Regions from separate parts of the Homo sapiens genome. Here all the other regions are linked to region 2. The links are contacts of gene promoters, found by promoter capture Hi-C in blood cells and fetal thymus (Javierre and others, 2016). All regions are on one chromosome and are shown on one strand. Each heading gives the region's core, a stretch centred on a gene start or on the middle of the fragment in contact. The rest is flanking DNA. Distances are from core to core; before and after follow the strand shown.

Region 1 (2,720 bases), core at 211-2,710, 1.4 Mb before region 2:
TATGAGGGAGGGAGAGTGGCATCTCATTCACTATCAAACTTGCTGATATTGCCTTGTACCTACATGAAACAGGAAAAGAGTTGGAGAAATAGCTGGCCAGGGAGTGGGCTGAAATAAAGCAATCTGCAACATCTACCATGTGGTATAGCAAGGATACCGAGGATGTGTAAGTTTCTCATGGGTCAATCGATGCTGCGTAGAAAATGCTGTCCAGGTTTGAACTATCTTGATCCTGAAGGGGGAAAGAAATTCTAGCAGCAAGAGGCTGGATTTACTTCTGGGAGAGGAAACTAAGAGAGTTAGCAGAGATAGAGCTAAGACTGCTCCATCGCCTGTGTTGATCGAGGGACTGTGCAGTTGGGAAGCTGTTTCAGAGTTTCTAGGAGAACTCAATGTGCCCCATTAAAGAGTGAACATTTGGATGCAGTATTCATTGTACAGTTAAGGAAAATTTATCCCTTTCATCCCTATTCTCTCTCCCAGTCCCCAACACTAGAGGGATAGGCCCTGAAAGTGTTACTGATAGAGGGTCTTGACTGCAAGGTGTCCAAGTTCTTTGCGTTTTGAACTAAGAATTGGACAAAACGCCCCGCAAAGAAAGAATAAAGCAACTAAAGAACGAAAGCAGGGATTTATTGAAAATGAAAGTACACTTCACAGTGTGGGAGCCGGCGTGAGTAGTGGCTCAGAATCTTCTCCGGTCCAAATACCCGCTAGAGGCTTCCCATTGGCCACTTCATTTCATGAAGTGGTGGCTTGCAATTGGTCTGAGTGGTTGCCAAAAGCAAGCAATCAGAGGCTAAGGTGAAGTTACAAAGTTGCAAACGAACTCTCAGCCAGCAAGCAGTGTGATTGGTTGCAGACAGCCAATTTCCCATCTGCCACGCACAGAAGGTGGGGGTTTGCAAAGTAGCCTCTGGTCCTTTTGTTACTTAGGCATGGCAAGTTAGGGTTTTCCTTTAAATCTGGCTCTAAGAAGTTGGAGTGAAACAGCCTTAGGTTCCCTGCCTCCAGACCTTATTCTCCTGCCTCAAAAGGAGAGGGAAAAACTGGTTAAAAACCCCACCTTTCATCTTCAGAGTTGCTTAAGTCACGAGTTCAGCCAGAGAATGTTTGCTTGGAACTGACACTGGAGTGTTCAACTAGACAGACTTAATAACCCACACTGTGGGATGGGTAAAAGAAGTTGCTCAGGTTGTCTTTAAAGGATTTGCTGTGTAGTGCTTCTCGAATTTTAATGTGCGTGTCACCTGGAGATCTCATTAAAATGAAAATTATGATTCAGTTAGTCTGGGATGGGGCCAGAGATTCTGCATTTCTAACAAGCTCCTTAGGAATGCTGCTGATTCTAGGACCACATTTACCACATTTTGACAAAAAAGGCACTATAGAGAAGGGAGATTCAATAGAGCACACTTGGCAAAAATAGACAAAAATATTAGGATAAAATATCAATTTTTATAGATCAAAAAATGACTGAATATTGGCAATTAAAAAAACTAACTTTGTACCCCATTGAATATTCATTCAGTAAAATGGGGAACAATATTACATATTAAATAATTTCTGCATATCCTGACAAATATTTTTACCCTAGTCAAATGAGAATGTATACATGAAGCACTGTATGGAAGTAGTAGTGACCTGTGTTGGTAGGCATCAATCAGTCCTTGCTAAAAGAATGTGTGTGTGCACTTTGCTAAAGAGCGGGGCTGAAATCACAAGCAGTCAGTTCTAACATGATATAATTTTATTATTTTTACAAATGTCAAAGTCTCCAGAACTGTTTGTGGGTAAAAACTTACTGCCACCTGGTGGATCTGAGTTAAGACAAAGGGAAATAGATATCTTTTTTAAGCTCTCCTAAATACTATTATTATTTCCTTTGTTCTTTTAACTTTAAAAAGAAAACAAATATGTATTTACTTTTTAAAAGACTACATTTGGGGGAATTTCTGCATTTGGTTTCAATTGGAGGGGAAAATAATGTATATGAATGTTATTTTGATAAATATGGTTATATGCATTAGATGTTATATGCATTATAGGCATTAGAGTTACATTGTAACTTTAGAAGATGGCTCTTCCTTTCATTTCCACGGCTGTTTTTATCCTGAATAGTAACTTATCCATCCATTTCTGGAAGGTTCAGGAATTGGATAAATAAAACTAGATAATTACCTGAAGTGTGTGTAATGCTGTAATAAAGACCACTGTGTGTGACCTCTCTGAACTTTCCTCCATCTAGTCCCAAGATGTATCTCAGAAGAATTTTCCTAATCCTTCCCAGAATTAGATCAATTGATTTCACCTGGTGAAATAAATTCTCATTACCTTACTCAAATGTGTATTTAACTTTCCTTCCACTTCATGATTCTCTGTAGCCTCTAAGATCCCTAAACCCCCACCAATAGCAAGAAAGAGCCTTTTCTTGACTCAATGTTCAACTGCCTCAATTCTCACCAATTTATTTTTGTAATCTAGGCATTTAAACCTAGTCTAGATTCTCTTACAAATATCAGTGAACATCCATAATGAGAATTATGGATCATGAATACAAACAAAGTAGAAAAAAATCTGTTACTGAACTATTATATGCTGGATTTACCAACCTTTCCTCTAAAAGTGATGTTCATTATTATGCCAAGACGAAACATCCTATAGGCCTTCTGCAGTGTACTAATGTATATTTTCTCATGATGAATTCTTCTGTGATTACT
Region 2 (2,700 bases), core at 114-2,613:
GAGGTCCTACGTGGGTATACCAGGAAATGAAGAGTCTGGAAGCCCTGCCCTAAGAGAAACAAATAAAGGAACTTCAAAGAGAAGGAAGTGAGGTACCCTGAGGAGAAGCTGGGATGTCTTAACAACTGCTTTGGGATTTTGAGCTTGCCCTTTTCACTGTGTAGAGTGTTCCTTGCCCTACTTTCCACCTGTTGAAGTTTTCCTCATTCTCCAAGGTCAGACTGAATACATCTACTGTGAAAAGTTTCTAGAACCTCTTGGGATCCATCTTCCTACTGGCAAACCCCCATAGCACTTGCTACTTATGTTGTAATACCAAGCAATAGTCAGACTTATCTAGGTCAAGTTAAGTAGGGGCTTGAACGCCACACTAAGGGGTTTAAGCTTTAAGCTTGTAGTCATGGGGAGCCACTATGCTTCTGAGGACAGGTGTGACTTACGACTGACGTTTAGGAAGGTATCAAAGGCAGACTGAGAAGCTCTTTCAGGTGTGAAAGGGGGTGGAATTACTCTCTCTCTGTTCTTTTTTGTTGTTTTTGTTTTTGTTAGCACATGACTATGGGCTAGGCATTCCGCTTGGTTATCCCGCTTCATAGACGTGAGCCCGGTTACTCCGACACACCGTGGCCCCAGGCAGCCTCCCCGTCCTCACCACCTTTTCTTCTGTCATCTGAGGGTAATTCCTCCCCTGCAGTCGTGCTTTCCGGGCTCAGCAATGACCTGCTACCTGCCACGTCTAGGGATCTGTCCCCTCAGTCCTCACGCTCACGCTTTCTGAGTCCATAACCTCCTTCCTGAAACGTTTTCTTCTCACTTCTCCCAAACTGACTGCATTCCCCCTCCGGTAGTTTGAAATTTGGAAGACTTTTTTTTTTTTTTTTTTTTTTTACCGCAGACGCTTAAAACGAAGCTTAATTAGTCAAGGACAGCTATGGGTGGAGACTTGAAGAGATCTGAAGGGTATCTTGGAGCGCTTTAGACTTGAGAGGCCGGTGACAATAGCTCTAAAGAGACCCGTCAAAGCCTGCGGATTCTTCTTTTAACAGCTCTATTCTCATGCATGCACGCCAGGGCTGGGGGGAACTTTTGTTGTTTGTTTGTAATAGAAATCGAGAAAGGGAGTGGGGCCCGCCTCTTTTCTGACCTAAGGGCAGGAGTGAGGGGCCGGGAGGATTACGGGCGGCTCCCCCTAGACGCGCCCCCAGGCGAGCTGGAGACTGGGGCACTCCTTGCTTGGTAGAGGGGCGGGGCGCGCCTAGCGGCCACGCGCGCGGGCGTCGGAGGGGGCGTGTCTCGCGGGCGCGCGCGGGCGTCGGAGGGGGCGTGTCCCGCGGGCGGTGGCGGCGGCGGCGGCGCGGACTGGGTGCGCGGCGCAGCGTCCTGTGTTGGAATGTGCGGCTGCCGCGAGCTCGCGGCGCAGCAGCGGAGCGAGCGCCGCCGAGGCCCGGGGCCCCAGACCCTGGCGGCGGCTGCCGCAGCCGAGACGGCAGGGCGAGGCCCGGAGGCCTGAGCACCCTCTGCAGCCCCACTCCTGGGCCTTCTTGGTCCACGACGGCCCCAGCACCCAACTTTACCACCCTCCCCCACCTCTCCCCCGAAACTCCAGCAACAAAGAAAAGTAGTCGGAGAAGGAGCGGCGACTCAGGGTCGCCCGCCCCTCCTCACCGAGGAAGGCCGGTAAGTGGGGCGCTGGGCTGGGGGCTCGGTCAGGGTGGGGGAGGGCCGCCCGGGCGGCGGCAGTGGCGGGACGGGGAGGGCGCGGAAGGACGCGGAGTCAGGCGCTGTCCAGGGCTGATTTGCAGATACTGTGGCTCCGGCGGCGGCGGCCCCGCCGGGCGGGGGCTGGCGGCCGAGCAGGATCGGGTTACACAGCAGCCGCCCGGGGGCTGGGGGCGTTTGTTGGGAGCAGCGCGTCGCCTGGACCCCCTCCCCACTGGAGGCTGGGACGCCGCCTCCGCGCTGGCCCGGACGCTCCACCGAGTCAGGTCCTTTGAGGCCAAGGAGCGGAGCTGCTCGGGCCCGTAGTCCTGAAACTTCCTCTGCTTCCTCCTCCTGCCCCCGGGTCCCACCGCAGCCCCGCGCCGGCCCGCGGCCCTCCTGGCCCCCTCCCCCAGGGCCTCTCCCTGTCGCCGGAAGGCGCCGTTGAGTGCGGCCGGGCGGGTTGAGTCAGCCCCGGGGCCCGGGCGGTTCCGCCTGCGGGGCTGGACAGCGATTTCTGCGCTTCAGCCGTCCGGCGCCGCTGGCCCCCGCGTCCGGCCACCCGACCGCTGGAGCTGGCGGGGCTGGGGCGCGCGTCCTGCCGGGCGCCGTGGGGGAGTGAAGTTCGCAAACTTCCGGGGCGCGGGGGTGGCGGCTGGCCCGTGTGGGGGCCCCCTCCGGCGCTCGGAGCCCGACGCCTCGCGAGGGCGCCCGCGGAGCCTCCCCGGCCCTGGGCGTTGGGCGAGCCCCGGGGCGGTCGGAGGGGCCCGGGGGCGGTCGGAGAAGCCCGGACGCCGGCTGCGCGGTAACTTTCCGTCCTCTCCCGGGACGGGGGCCCTAGGGCTGGGGAGGGGGCTGCCTGGACTCGGGGAGGACTGGTTCCGGCCAAACAGCGCCTCGAGCTTGATCCCCTCCCCCGTTTTAGTGTTGGAGAGCGCAGGAAAAGGCTCAGGACGAGTGTCGGGGCGACTCCCGCGAGTTGGTGTGTAAATGTGTGCAGTG
Region 3 (2,700 bases), core at 29-2,528, 1.4 Mb before region 2:
TAATAACCATAATGAATAGTGATTTTTTAAATGTTAAAAAAAACAAAAACAAAAACAAAAAAAACCCCAGCAAACCAAATTCAACAGCACATTAAAAGGATTATATACCATGACCAAGTGGGATTTATACCAGAAATTCAAGGATGGTTCACAATACAAAAATCAATTAGGGTAATATACCACATTAATAAAATGAAGCACAAAAACCACATGATTCCAATTGACGAACAAATGCATTTGACAAAATTCAACACCCTTCCATGATAAAAACACTCAATAAATGAAGAATAGAAGGAAACTACCTCGACATAATAAACACCATATATGAATATCCCACAGCTAACATCCTATTCAATGGTAAAAGACTGAACACTTCTCCTAGGATTAGGAGCAAGTCGAGGATGCCCACTCTCATCACTTCTATTCAACACAGTACCAGAAGTCCTAGATAGAGCAATTAGGCAAGAAGAATAAATAGAAGGCACTCAAATAAGAAAGAAAATTATCTCTGTATACAGATGACATGATTTATATGCAGAAAGCCCTAAAGAAGAATCCACAAAAAAACTGTTAGTACTAATACATGATTTCAGCAAAGTTTCAGGATCCGAAATCAACACACAAAAATCAGTTGCATTTCTATACACCAAAAATGACCAACTGGAAAGGAAAATTTAAAAAAAAAAATCCCAATTTACTATAGTATCAAAAGAGGAAAGGCAAACCATGGTGGCTCAAACCTGTAATCCTAGCACTTTGGGAGGCCAAGGTGGGAGAACTGCTTGAAGCCAGGAATTTGAGACCTTATCTCTCTATAAAAATACCAAAAAATTAGCCGAGCGTGGAAGCATATACTTTTAGTCCCAGCTTCTTGGGAGGCTGAGGTAGGAGGATCATTTGAGCCCAGGAGTTCAAGGTCACAGTGAGCCATGATTGTGCCACTGCACTCCAGCCTAGGTGACAGAGACCCTATCTCTTTAAACAAAGAAAAGGGGTCGGGTCGGGGGGGTAGTGTGGATAAAAATACTAGGAATAAACTTAACCAAGGAGATAAAAGACTTGTACTCTGAAAACTACAAAACATCGCTAAAAGAAATCAAAGAGAGAATACAAATAAATGGAAAAACATTCCGTGTTTTTAAACTGAAAGAGTTAATACTGTTAAAATGTCCATACTACCTAAAGCAATCTATAGATTCAATGTAATCCCTGTCAAATTCTCAATGACATTTTTTTTGCAGAAATAGAAACAAAACCATCCTAAAATTCATACAGAATCTCAAGGGACCCCCAAGTAGCCAAACCAGTCTTGAAAAACCACCAAAAATTTGGAGGCCTCATACTTTCTTATTTCAAAACACACTACAAAGCAACAGTAATCAAGACAGTGTGGTACTGACATAAATACAGAGCTACAGACCAATGGAACAGAACAGAAATAAACGCTCGCACATGCCACCAAATGACTTGCGACAAGGGTGCCAAGACTACCCAATGGAGAAAAAACAGTCTCTACAACAAACAGTGTTGGGAAAACTGAATATCCACATGCCAAAGAATGAAGCCAAAATATGATATTACTAATTTATTTTATGATGACCTAAAAGTTTTGATTTCCGAATATTTTTTCAACACTTTTTAATTAAGTATTTTAGATACATATTAGAATATTTTTCTGCCTAGAAAGTAATTCAAACCATATCACTGACTAAAGATTTTTGGGATTGTTTGTAAATCCGTGAAAAAGTGCTTAAGGCCAGGCATGGTGGCTCGTGCCTGTAATCTCAGCACTTTGGGAGGCCAAGGCAGGTGGATCACCTGAGGTCAAGAGTTTGAGACCAGCTTGGCCAACATGGTGAAATCCCATCTCTACTAATAGCACAAAAATTAGCCAGGCATGGTGGCACACGCCTGTAATCCCAGCTACTCGGGAGGCTGAGGCAGGAGAACAGCTTGAACCTGGGAGGCAGAGGTTGCAGTAATCCAAGATCATGCCACTACACTCCAGCCTGGGCAACAGAGTGAGACTCCATCTCAAAAAAATAAAACAAAAACAAAGTGCTTGTTTAAGATGCAGGAGAGTGGACACTTGTTTACTAAATTCAAGACACACTACAAAACTTTTGCTTTTCAGTAAACTCTCGATGTTTTCCTTTTTGCCTGTGTCTTAAAACATTAATGTATAAAGAACCCAATAGTAATAAAATGTTTTGTACATTTGTTTGCCATTTAATCTAGCTTGTACTACCCTATGATTAACAGCACTGAAGTAATTAATAATTACAGTTGTAATATGCAGCGAGTCAAGTGGAGCATCAGTGCAACAATACCAAACTTGAAACGAGTGCTTATTCTACTCTCAACTATCACCAAGCCAATCCTCCTCAAACTCTTCCAAAGAACTAAATGTGAGAGAACATTTCCAAACTCATTCTAAAAGGCCAGCATTACCCTGATATCAAAATCAGACAAAGATACCACAAAAAAAGAAAGCTACAGCAATAAACCTAATGAATACTGATTTTTTTACCCTTAAAAAAATACTAGCAAACCAAATTCAACAGCACACAGTCTATGTGCTGTTGTACTGCAGAATCTAATACTCCTGGGTATTTTTGTTATAGCAGCCAAAACTAAGATATCCATTCTATCCTCACATGCTAATAGACTCTAATCCCCTACACCTTGATTTGGTTTTCT
Region 4 (2,700 bases), core at 4-2,503, 1.1 Mb before region 2:
GACACATGCACACGTATGTTTATTGCGGCACTATTCCCAATAGCAAAGACTTGGAACCAACCCAAATGTCCAACAATGATAGACTGGATTAAGAAAATGTGGCACATATACACCATGGAATACTATGCAGCCATACAAAATGATGAGTTCATGTCCTTTGTAGGGACATGGATGAAATTGGAAATCATCATTCTGAGTAAACTATCTCAAGGACAAAAAACCAAACACCGCATGTTCTCACTCATAGATGGGAATTGAACAATGAGAACACATGGACACAGGAAGGGGAACATCACACTCTGGGGACTGTTGTGGGGTGGGGGGAGGGGGGAGGGAGAGCATTAGGAGATATACCTAAAGTTAAATGACTAGTTAGTGGGTGCAGCACACCAGCATGGCACATGTATACATATGTAACTAACCTGCACAATGTGCACATGTACCCTAAAACTTAAAGTATAATAATAATAAAAAATAAAAAAATTAAAAAAAAAGAGATGATTTCTGCACTTCTGAGAGAATCTCCTAGAATGTGTATACGGAGTTCAGCACTGTGCATTTGTAATGACTGCCCTTTATTGTAATATCACTCTACAATATGTATATTAAATAAGGCAGCTGCATAAGAAAAGCATTGAGACGCAATGTGATTCTGCAAGCCAATCTTTGCCTTCCTTATATTTATTTGTATGTCACATTATATTACTTTCCAATAATGATGTCAAATGTGCATCTACTATCTAACTAATATTTATTTATAATATTTACTTAATTAATATTGATACAGGTAATTACCATCCTTATTTAGTGACTCCCTGACTTCCTCCCATAAAGCTACAAAGAAATGGAAAGTATCACGTGGGGATATTTACATCTATTTCTAACAAAACCTAAAACAAACACCAATTGCTTTATGTATTTAACAGTAGAGACATTTCTTCCTTGCTGCAGTTGTTAAAGATATTTAGAAAATAAAGAATCTGGGCCTAGGTGGGCAGATCACTTGAGCCCAGGAGTTTGAGACCAGCCTGGGCAACATGGCAAAACCCCATCTCTACTAAACCCCATCTCTACTAAAAATACAAAAGATCACCCAGGCATGGTGGCATGTGCTTGTAGTCCCAGCTACTTAGGAGGTTGAGGCAGAAGAATCGCTTGAACCTGGGAGGCAGAGGTTGCAGTGAGCTAACGCCATTGCACTCCAGCCTGGGTGACAGAGCAAGACTGTCTCCAGAAAAAACAGAACGAAAAAGAAAATAAAGAATCTGGGAAGTGCAGCATTGTAACTCTCATTGTCCACCCCCCACCCCCACAAAGAGTTACTTGGTGTTCTTTGTGTTGATACTAATAGTCTTACATCTCTGAAAAAAAGTTCTTCCTTTCTTAGACAGGAACATGCATCATTAAATTATAAGAAAACAATGCTAAGAAATAGGGAAGAGAAAAATCAAAGTAAGTGTCATAATAAATGTCAAATGTTTAAAATGTCACATTTCAAATTGAAATTATATAAATCTACATGATTTTAAACATTTGAACATTTTAAACATTTGAAGATCCCTTAGCTTTATACCCAAATTAAAATTAATCAGACTGATATCAAAAGACAGTTTGGATGCCAGTAAAAGAGGCATCCAAATATGAAATATGAAAGTCCACTTCCATGAAATCTATGAGTTTTCTCACTAAACAATGTCCTCAAAGCCAGTGGAGCTACCACCGATGTCATCAGAGACAGCCCTAGAGGGAGTGGGGCACTTTTGCCCTTCCTCCTTCAGGGGTTCAAGCTGAGGAAAAGGATGGTCTCCCTCCCCCTTCAAAAGGTGCAAAATGGATTCAGGTCTTGAGAAGAACATGAAGTCTTTACAATCTTCAGGCCTCTGCTTTACTGGTGCACAGTAACAAGAGCGATTTCTCTGAGGAAACAATTAACTTCTATAAATCATCAATATTTACTACTCTTCACCATTTAGAAGAGACTTTTCCCTTGGAGCTTACTAACAATGGAAAAGTTATTTCATGCTATGTAAGTATGAGATTCCCTCATATGTGATACATGTTAATATATACAGCCTTCTTTCTATGTAAAGGAAGCGGGACCTCAGAACCTCCTTGGGCAGAACCTCCTTGGGTGACTATTACATGTTTTTCAAGTAGGTAAATCTGCCCAATTTAATCTACTAAACCAATCTGCATGTAATAACAGCTACCATTTATTGAATGCTTATACTGTGTGCCAAGCAATGAGACAAGTGCTTTACAAGAAACATCTTAGCAAATATGCCCAAGATGGGATTACTATTTTTTATATACAGATGAGAAAATTGAGGCTCTGAAGAGTTAAGTAACTTGCCCTGTGGTCACTGACTCAGTAAAGGGTAAAGACCAGATTTGAACCCCTGGTCTGTGTGATTCCGAAACAGGAAAATTCCCTTATCCCCATCGCAGGGCATGCGATGGGGGTGTCACTCACTTCTTCAGTGCCCCACTGCTCAAACCTCTAGGGGGAGCATGCAGAAGGGCAGGTTGTGGGGCTCGGACTCCACGGCAGCGTATAGGGGTGAACGTTTACAGCTCCTGAAGCCCTGCTCAGCGTTTGTTACAGGGTGCTCTTTTAGTTTAGTCATCCGGATGGCTTGTGTTAGCTAGCTCAATTAGACCTCCTGCCTAATTGCAAGGAGAGGGCTTTCTGTGTCCTGA
Region 5 (2,796 bases), core at 260-2,759, 2.0 Mb before region 2:
ATCCAAATGCATCACTTGAATCCTGTTTGGTTGTTCTGACGTAGAAGAAGAAAAGAAAGAGAATCAATTGAGGAAATGTAAGATGCAGAACTACAAAAATAAACTTGCCGTCCCTGACATCTGTGTTTATAAATGCACTATATTAAACAGCAGAGATTTTCCCCATCGTTAGCCAACACCAAGATGGCGTCTTGCAGGCTTTGTTTTTTCTTCACCCCTAATCGTAAGGGCTTTCTTTACTCTCTCTTTGCTTCCAGCTTTTGTCTTATTCTCCCCATAAAGAGTTGGCAGAGCATGGCTGGGCAATTTCAGAAACATGGTTTATAAGTGACTTGCTCTATTATTTTGCTATTAAAAGTGAGTCTGTGCTAACTATTCTTTGATGAAGAAGCAGTCCCTTCCAGCCCCCAGGTGGAGATTTTCCCTATCAATAACGCCAGAACAAGTTTGAATCAAAGAAATGACACATACAGTGGCCAGATGTTTGGAGAATAAGAAAGGGAGCTAAGTTCACACAATTGTTCTGCCTTCTTGCTTTCCGCTGAGGTTCTTTCCTGTGAGCTGTAGGACTCATTAACAGACAGCTCTGCTCTGGGCATGCACACCGACAGCCTCAGCCTAGCCCTTCAGCGAGAGGCTGCTAACAGGCGGCCTTCCTTTTCCTGTGCAGCTGGTGTTTGCAGAAGGACATGATTTGAAAGTTGATTTATTTACCCTGTCTTTGAAAAAAAATGAATGGACATAGATGTCTGTTTGTTAAAACAATTAATAAACTCTAATAATATGATTAGAATTTAACAGAAAAACATCGTTGGCTTGCAGGTGGAAATCCAAGGTCTTCAACTTTTAGGATGTTCATCATGTAGCTGTCTCACTCAGAACAAGATAAGATGACGTGTTTGGTCTTTAAAAACAAAACAGTCAGGAGATCGAGACCATCCCGGCTAAAACGGTGAAACCCCGTCTCTACTAAAAATACAAAAAATTAGCCGGGCGTAGTGGCGGGCGCCTGTAGTCCCAGCTACTTGGGAGGCTGAGGCAGGAGAATGGCGTGAACCCGGGAGGCGGAGCTTGCAGTGAGCCGAGATCCCGCCACTGCACTCCAGCCTGGGCGACAGAGCGAGACTCCGTCTCAAAAAAAAAAAAAAAAAACAAAACAAAACAAAAAAACAGCTGATCAGTTCTTGTTTTTTACTCTACAGCCTTTGAGTCATGAATGAAGAAAATCACTTTCACTTGTGGGAGCCAGTGGGCTCCAGTTCGTGTTGTCTCTGTTGTCCGTGGAGACTTTGAAGATGTTTATATGCACCTCAACTATCAAGAGGAAGAGAACATGCCAGAAAGGGCCTCTTCCTCTTGGGCTAGCTCCTCCTCTCAAGTCCCTTCAAAAAGTCAGTGTGTCTGAGACACAATAGACACAGCTTAAATAAAGTGAAGAGGGATAGGCCGTAGAAGAAGTAGTTTCTGTCTTTAAAAAATGTATTCATTATTTTGGGGAATAATATAAACCTGAACACCAATTTAAAAAACTTTAAAGGACTATTCAGTGAAAAATCATTCTCTCTCCCACCCTCACTCCCCATCAGCCACCATGTTCCCAAACCAGAGGCAACTGCCATTATATTTCTAGAGTATTCTTCCAGAGACATCCTATGTAGATATAAACATTCATACATACACATATATATGCTTTTAAAATATGCAAATGATGTACAATACACATTGTTCTGCACTTTGCTTTTTTTTTTTCATTTAACAATACATCAGACAAAGATGTTTTTTCTGCTCAAAGTGCCATCAAGAGAGAAAAGTCATTCTTCAGTTCAATGATCTGCATCTGTTTCTGGCTTATTGTATTGACAACAAACAAAATGCAAGTCAAATTCTATTGCAGCCATAGGTAATCTCGGCCTGGAGAAATGTGAATCCTCTTTAAAACCTTACAACTCTGAATAACAGGAAGTGTGGAGTGCATAGAGGAGAAAGGGAAGGATGAATTATGCTTAATAGAACGTTTTATGGAACTGACAGTTGAGCCGAGAGACATTTTGGATGCCATCTTGCAAAATGATTCCTTGCCTAGCTCTAGTAAGTAGAATGCAAAGTTATTGGCTATAATAGCATAATTTTTGCTAGTTAAGGATCTCTATAGGTGGCATAGTGTCAATATTCTGGATATGACATGAGGGAGGTAGAAAGAGAACAGGCTTTGGAATCAGGCAGACCTAGATGTTAATACTGGATATACCAGTTATTAATTTAAACTAGTTTTCTAACCTCTCAGACCCTTGGTTTTCCTTTATGTAAAATGGAAATACTGTACATAAAGAGTGGTTGTGACAATTTGTCTTTTTTTAAAAAAAAAACACATCATAGGTGTCCACTATTACTGTGATGCTGCATAACAAATAATTCCCCCATTCTCCATGACTTGAAATAATGAATATTCATGTTGTATTCATGTTTCCATTCACTGTAGTTTAGATGTACCCAGCTGCTCTTGCCTGAGCTTTTCTGGCCTCTAGGCTTGGGTCTGTTTCAGGTCTGCTTTACACGTCTCGATTTCAGGTCAAAGGGTGACAATTGCCTGGTGGCATGCTTTTCTCTCATGGCAGAAGATAGAACCTCAAGAGGACTGGCAGCAACTCACCATGCCTCTTATAGACTCAGCTGGTCTATAAGACCAGAACATTGTTACTTCTGCCCACATTCCATGGGCCAAAACATCACAGGGCCAGGGCCAAGGCCAAATTCAATGAAGTAGGAGGAATATTCTCCCTGTAGTGAACCACAGCA
Region 6 (2,700 bases), core at 64-2,563, 1.5 Mb before region 2:
GCTACTTACTAGCTGTGTAATTTGAGGAAAGTTCCTTGACCTAAGTCTCAGATTTCTCATTTGCAAAAAGGAGGATAGAAATAATTCATGTAACACACTTAGTGCTCTGACTGGATCAGAATAGCATTCAATAAAGTTTTACTACTACTTTAATGATAACTATTCCCATTACCTTCTTATATAATCTACTAGGTGCTAGAAATATAAAGATAAAAGGCATAACCTTACCATCTAGAAGCTTAAGGCTTAGTAAGGGTGTTGGAATAAAAGACATTAAAATACAGTGCAGGCCCGGCTCAGTGGCTCACACCTGCAATCCCAGCACTTTGGGAGGCCGAGGTGGATGGATTACTTGAGGTCAGGAGTTCGAGACCTGCCTTGCTAACATGGTGAAACCCTGTCTCTACTAAAAATACAAAAATTAGCCAGGCATGGTGGCGGGCGCCTATAGTCCCAGCTACTTTGGAGGCTGCGGCAGGAGAATCGCTTGAACCTGGGAGGTAGAGGTTGCAGTGAGCTGAGATCGCACCACTGCACTCCAGCCTGGGTGACAGAGCGAGACTCCATCTCTACATAAATAAATAAAAAATAAAATATAGGTCAGGCACAGTGGCTCATGCCTATAATCCCAGCACTTTTGGGAGGCCAAGGCGGACGGATCACGAGGTCAGGAGATCAAGACCATCCTGGCTAACATGGTAAACCCGTCTCTACTAAAAATACAAAAAATTAGTGGGGCGTGTAGCACATGCCTGTAATCCCAGCTACTCAGGAGGCTGAGGCAGGAGAATTGCTTGAACCCGGGAGGCGGAGGCTGCAGTGAGCCGAGATCTTGCCACTGCATTCCAGCCTGGGCAACAGAGCGAGACTCCACCTCAAAAATAAATAAATAAATTAATTAAATAAAATACAATGTAATGCACATGTAGTAGGGTTTCTTTCCATAGGATGCCTGACAGTGGTTACATTTTAGTAAGACTATATCGGTGTAGGCTATGATTAAAAAATATATCATCTTGGAATTGTTGCGCCACCCACATCCTTATTGGGTAGGGGGTTAAATAAGTAGCTTCAGTTGTCCTTCAAGAAAGGTATCAGGAAAGCTCCTATAGTTTTTTAATTGCTTTTTTTAAGGGAGTTAGTCACCAATGAGGACTAGAAGGATGATGGCTCTAAACCCTCAAGGTGGTGAAAACTGGAGCCAGCCTCGATTTAGCACGCCTGAGCACGGATCCCAGGAGGTAGATGTGTGTGGAAACAGAAATACCAGATCCCATGAGAATCAGACACCTAGAGCCTAGCCTGGCAGCACCTGAAGGCCCTTGGATCAGGGTGACACTGGGGCAGGCTAGAAAGGTCTCACTCTGGCCCAGATTCTGATGCTTTGCTGACACCACTGTGCCAGTTCGCCAATGCTCTATCTCCATTTATGTTACATCTTCTGCCAAATAGCTTTGCTGCCTTGCCCCTGAACCACTGCATGCTCAGCAGCTGGTGCTTCAGCATCCTGCAGCTGTAGCCCAGAAGTCCTCACTGCCTCATATGTTGAGATGACTGAATTTGGCCAGGAGTCCTTCCTGTGAGAAAGCCCTGGAGTGTGGGCAGCCCATCCTAGAAAATAAACAAAGCAGCTTTCAGCAATGAGGGACACACAGCCAGTTTTGCTACATTCACCCTTCTGGCTCTGTCTTCAGCCTAAGCTGCTCCTTTCAGGTCCCTCCCTTGGGACCTCAAGCCTCCCTTTCAGGCCCCTTTTAAGCACAGCAAATCCTGTATGCATTAAGGGGAGGTAGTTGAAGTTTGGGCTTCTGGGTTTTATGTTATTACTGGCTTCTGAAAGCTCAAACATTTGCACTCCAGGGATGATAGTTGCATCTGTTAAATTTAGTGTAAAGCTGCCTCCTTACATATTTTAAGTTAGGCCTAAAGGTTTCCCCATACATGGTGAACTGTAGCCTAATTGGGTATGTAAACAGACTGTAACCTATTCTTGTACCAATCACAGAGTTCTGGCCAATCACAAGTGGCCAACTGTTCAAACCGTGTTCAAATAGGGCAAACCTGAGCTACAACCAATCCAGCTGTTTCTGTCCCTCAATTATGTTTTCTGTAAGTCACTTTATTTTTTCCGACCACTCGGCAAGACTGGAGCCTCTCTGAACTTACTTTGATTTGGGGTCTTTTTGATTTGCAGATCATTCTTTGGGTTCTTTGCTTGATTAAACGCTGTTAAGTTTAATTTGTCTAAGGTTTTTCTTTTAACACACCCCAAACTGTAAGTGGAGGCATCCTACTTACACAGTAATAGAAGAATGCATAAAGCAATAACATGAAGGAACAAGTGACAAATTCTGTAACGCCATGTGTTGGGGAAAAGTTCTGAGAGTGGAAGCTTGAATAGGTTTTGGAAGTATGAGTAGGAGTTTACAAGGAGAGAATGGAAGAAGGGGAATTACGGACAGAATAACATGGACGGAGGCCGGCCGCGGTGGCTCACACCTGTAATCCCAGCACTTTGAGAGGACGAGGCCGGCAGATCACCTGAGGTCTGGAGTTCGAGACCAGCCTGACCAACATGGAGAAACCCCATCTCTACTAAAATTACAAAGTTAGCCGCGTATGGTGGAGCATGCCTGTAATCCCAGCTACTCGGGAAGCTGAGGCAGGAGAATCTCTTGTACCCGGGAGGAGGAGGTTGCA
Region 7 (2,700 bases), core at 80-2,579, 1.6 Mb before region 2:
GGCTGAGGTAGGAGAATGGTGTGAACCTGGGAGGCAGAGCTTGCAGTGAGCAGAGATCAGGCCACTGCACTCCAGCCTGGGCGACAAAGCGAGACTCCATCTCAAAAAAAAAAAAAAGAAAAGAAAGAAACAGTGAAAGGGTGACTCCCGCAAAAGAGATCCAGGATCACTCAATAAGGCCTCATTGTCCTAGCTAGAATGCCAATTTAACCATCCTTAATCACCTGGCTGTCAAAGGACGGGTAAAGCCTTAGGTGTCTTTTGCACAAAGAAGAAAACTTTAAAAGCTTGCTCATTTAACAGTCCAAAGTCCCACTAACCTACCCACCCTGATGTTTATTCAACACACATATCGGGTATCTCATTGGGGTAAGGGTGATGAGTTGGCTACCTCTCCCCTCTTCCACTTCTCACCCACCACCCAATCTCAAAAATGTAAGCTCCAAATAAGCAGTGACAATTATCTTGTAAACCCCTCTGTCCTCAGTATCCAAAATGATGCCTGTCATACAGTAGGCATACAATACTTCAGAATTAACATTTTAAAGACTTTTAAATACTTAAAAGAGCTAGATTTTCACTTATAGTAAATAAAATCAGTGTTGTTTAAAATCAGTGAGTCAATAAATAGCATTGTCACTACCTGAGATAAATGTTACAGGAAACAGCTGATGGAATTTAAAAACTTTGCTTCTAAGGATTGGAACCCTATTGGTAAGCGACTGCTGTTTTTTAAACACAGTTTTTACCACTATGATTTTTATTATTATGTGCAATTACTTGTCTACATGTTTACATTATACACATATCCAACACATTTCCAGCATCCTAACATAATTATTCATTTTTGGGTGTGATCTGCCTTCTTTATCCATATATACACACATTCATATTAATATAGTTGTTTGCAATCATAGCTATGTATTTTTATGGTTGGTTTTGTTTTTCACTTCACATATTGTTTCCTAAACAGCTTTCCCTGTTTCTACACTCGTCATAATAATTCTCAATGACTGCATGATATTCTAACATGTCAGTGTATCATAATTTAGCTAAATAAACTAAAATGCAACATGTAAGGTTTCCATTTTTTGCTTTGGAGATAATGTTGATAAGAGTGGCAGACACGTGGTCTCGTCTGTTTTGCGTCTTTGCTTCTGATGAATCATATTCTGGAGCTCCATCTAAGAATCCCCATGCCCAGATTAGGGACTGCGAGCGACCACCCAGCGCCAGCGCGACCAGGACCAAGGACCTCCGCGGCTGAGCGGCGAGTCCGGGAGGGGCTCTGCGCGTCCCCGCCCCGCGCCGCGTCACCGACGTCCCGCTAGGCTGAGACCGGTGCGCCGCGCGCTAGTGGCCGCTCTTCCGCGGGCTAGCGGGCGGTGGGGGCGCCAGCAGCGCGGAAGGCGGGCACGCGGGCCATGGCTCCCTGGGCGGAGGCCGAGCACTCGGCGCTGAACCCGCTGCGCGCGGTGTGGCTCACGCTGACCGCCGCCTTCCTGCTGACCCTACTGCTGCAGCTCCTGCCGCCCGGCCTGCTCCCGGGCTGCGCGATCTTCCAGGACCTGATCCGCTATGGGAAAACCAAGTGTGGGGAGCCGTCGCGCCCCGCCGCCTGCCGAGCCTTTGATGTCCCCAAGAGGTAACCGCGCCCCGGTCCCGAGCCGCGGTGGTCAAGGCGCTGAGAGTTCGGGGCGCCCCGGCTCGCGGGCAGCCAGCAGGGGGCAGCAGAGGCGGGACCCGGCCTGGGAGGCCCTGGCGGGTTCCCGGGCGCAGCACGGCGCTCCCTCGGCCTGGCCCCGGCCATGCCCCGGCTGCTGCGTGGCTCCGGGGAGCAGTGCCCGGGTGTCCGCGGACGCCGAGGGAGAGCGGAGCCGCTTGCACTCAGCTGGAGGAATGTGAACTGGTAGCCGCACGGAGCCTTTCCCTGTGGGAAATGGCAACGCATCCGAATTTAGGCCTGGTCATGCGAATTTAGGCGGCAAATTGAAGTGCCCCTTGCCCCAAATTCTCCTTTTTCCCGTACCCTGCACTCCAGTGGCTCATACTCTAACTTGAGGTCACCGGGAATCATTTGTGGAAATGAAGTTAGGCCGGCTCTTCGGCCTCGGCTTCCCCCGTTTCTCTTCCCAACCCTTGCAGTGGGGACAAAGGACTGAGTCGCCCTAACCTGCACCTTGGCAGGTGCCCCTGGGGAAGGTGGCCCAAGGTGCAGGTCATAGGCAGGCCCGTCCCGAAGCTCCATTTGACTTTCGAAAAATTCTGTAACCCAGTTCAGCGAAGGATTAAATCGTCAGGTTTTAAATAGAGACCTGTTATAATTTTCTTCTTCTCCTTTTTCCACTTTAAATTCAGGACATAGCTGGAAAGAGTTGGCCAAATACTATTCGAGATGGTAGAAATAGAACAGTGCCCCTTAAGATGCATCTTAGGCCGGGCGCAGTGGCTCACGCCTGTAATCCCAGCACTTTAGGAGGCTGAGGCAGGCGGATCGCTTGAGTTCAGGAGTTCGAGACCAGGCTGGGAAATATAGTGAGACTCCGTCTCTCCTGAAAATACAAAAAATTGGCAGGGCTTGGTGGCGTGTGCCTGTAGTGCCAGCTACTTGGAATGAAGGCAGGAAGATCATCTGAGATCAGGCATTGGAGACTGCAGTGGGCTATAATCATGGCACTGCACTCTAGCCTGGGCAACAGA

Evidence for each region. Contacts are between HindIII fragments. The CHiCAGO score rates a contact against its expected background, and 5 or more counts as called.
Region 1: a fragment that was not itself captured here is called in contact with the fragment with the promoter of REST in region 2 in 5 of 17 cell types (naive CD8 T cells, non-activated CD4 T cells, activated CD4 T cells and 2 more); the score reaches 8.2 in naive CD8 T cells.
Region 3: a fragment that was not itself captured here is called in contact with the fragment with the promoter of REST in region 2 in 1 of 17 cell types (non-activated CD4 T cells); the score reaches 5.1 in non-activated CD4 T cells.
Region 4: a fragment that was not itself captured here is called in contact with the fragment with the promoter of REST in region 2 in 8 of 17 cell types (total B cells, fetal thymus, non-activated CD4 T cells and 5 more); the score reaches 10.2 in total B cells.
Region 5: a contact is called between a fragment that was not itself captured here and the fragment with the promoter of REST in region 2, in 1 of 17 cell types (fetal thymus). The highest score is 5.6, in fetal thymus.
Region 6: a fragment that was not itself captured here is called in contact with the fragment with the promoter of REST in region 2 in 1 of 17 cell types (naive CD8 T cells); the score reaches 9.9 in naive CD8 T cells.
Region 7: a contact is called between the fragment with the promoter of SRD5A3 here and the fragment with the promoter of REST in region 2, in 5 of 17 cell types (fetal thymus, activated CD4 T cells, total CD8 T cells and 2 more). The highest score is 11.4, in fetal thymus.

The regions. Positions count from the first base shown.
Region 1 is chr4:55,552,850-55,555,569 of GRCh38, forward strand. No RefSeq gene overlaps it. Among named protein-coding and RNA genes, the nearest start is that of CLOCK, 7.3 kb to the left of the region's middle. The HindIII fragment of the contact is 8,802 bases long and covers 1-2,720 here.
Region 2 is chr4:56,906,537-56,909,236 of GRCh38, forward strand. It overlaps REST (RE1 silencing transcription factor), which reads left to right and starts at 1,364. Exons shown (of 4, transcript NM_005612.5): 1 at 1,364-1,677. RefSeq lists enhancers at 821-1,750, 2,681-2,700 and silencers at 847-1,141, 1,241-1,630, 1,741-2,590. The HindIII fragment of the contact is 2,443 bases long and covers 909-2,700 here.
Region 3 is chr4:55,531,867-55,534,566 of GRCh38, forward strand. All of the region lies in intron 1 of CLOCK (clock circadian regulator), which reads right to left. Among named protein-coding and RNA genes, the nearest start is that of CLOCK, 14 kb to the right of the region's middle. The HindIII fragment of the contact is 5,837 bases long and covers 1-2,700 here.
Region 4 is chr4:55,847,420-55,850,119 of GRCh38, forward strand. No RefSeq gene overlaps it. Among named protein-coding and RNA genes, the nearest start is that of EXOC1, 4.9 kb to the right of the region's middle. The HindIII fragment of the contact is 6,305 bases long and covers 1-2,700 here.
Region 5 is chr4:54,941,600-54,944,395 of GRCh38, forward strand. No RefSeq gene overlaps it. Among named protein-coding and RNA genes, the nearest start is that of LINC02358, 98 kb to the left of the region's middle. The HindIII fragment of the contact is 4,216 bases long and covers 1-2,796 here.
Region 6 is chr4:55,392,105-55,394,804 of GRCh38, forward strand. No RefSeq gene overlaps it. Among named protein-coding and RNA genes, the nearest start is that of TMEM165, 2.5 kb to the right of the region's middle. The HindIII fragment of the contact is 2,154 bases long and covers 237-2,390 here.
Region 7 is chr4:55,344,913-55,347,612 of GRCh38, forward strand. It overlaps SRD5A3 (steroid 5 alpha-reductase 3), which reads left to right and starts at 1,330. Exons shown (of 5, transcript NM_024592.5): 1 at 1,330-1,645. The coding sequence starts at 1,425. RefSeq lists an enhancer at 1,051-1,811 and silencers at 1,263-1,432, 1,643-1,912. The HindIII fragment of the contact is 3,550 bases long and covers 286-2,700 here.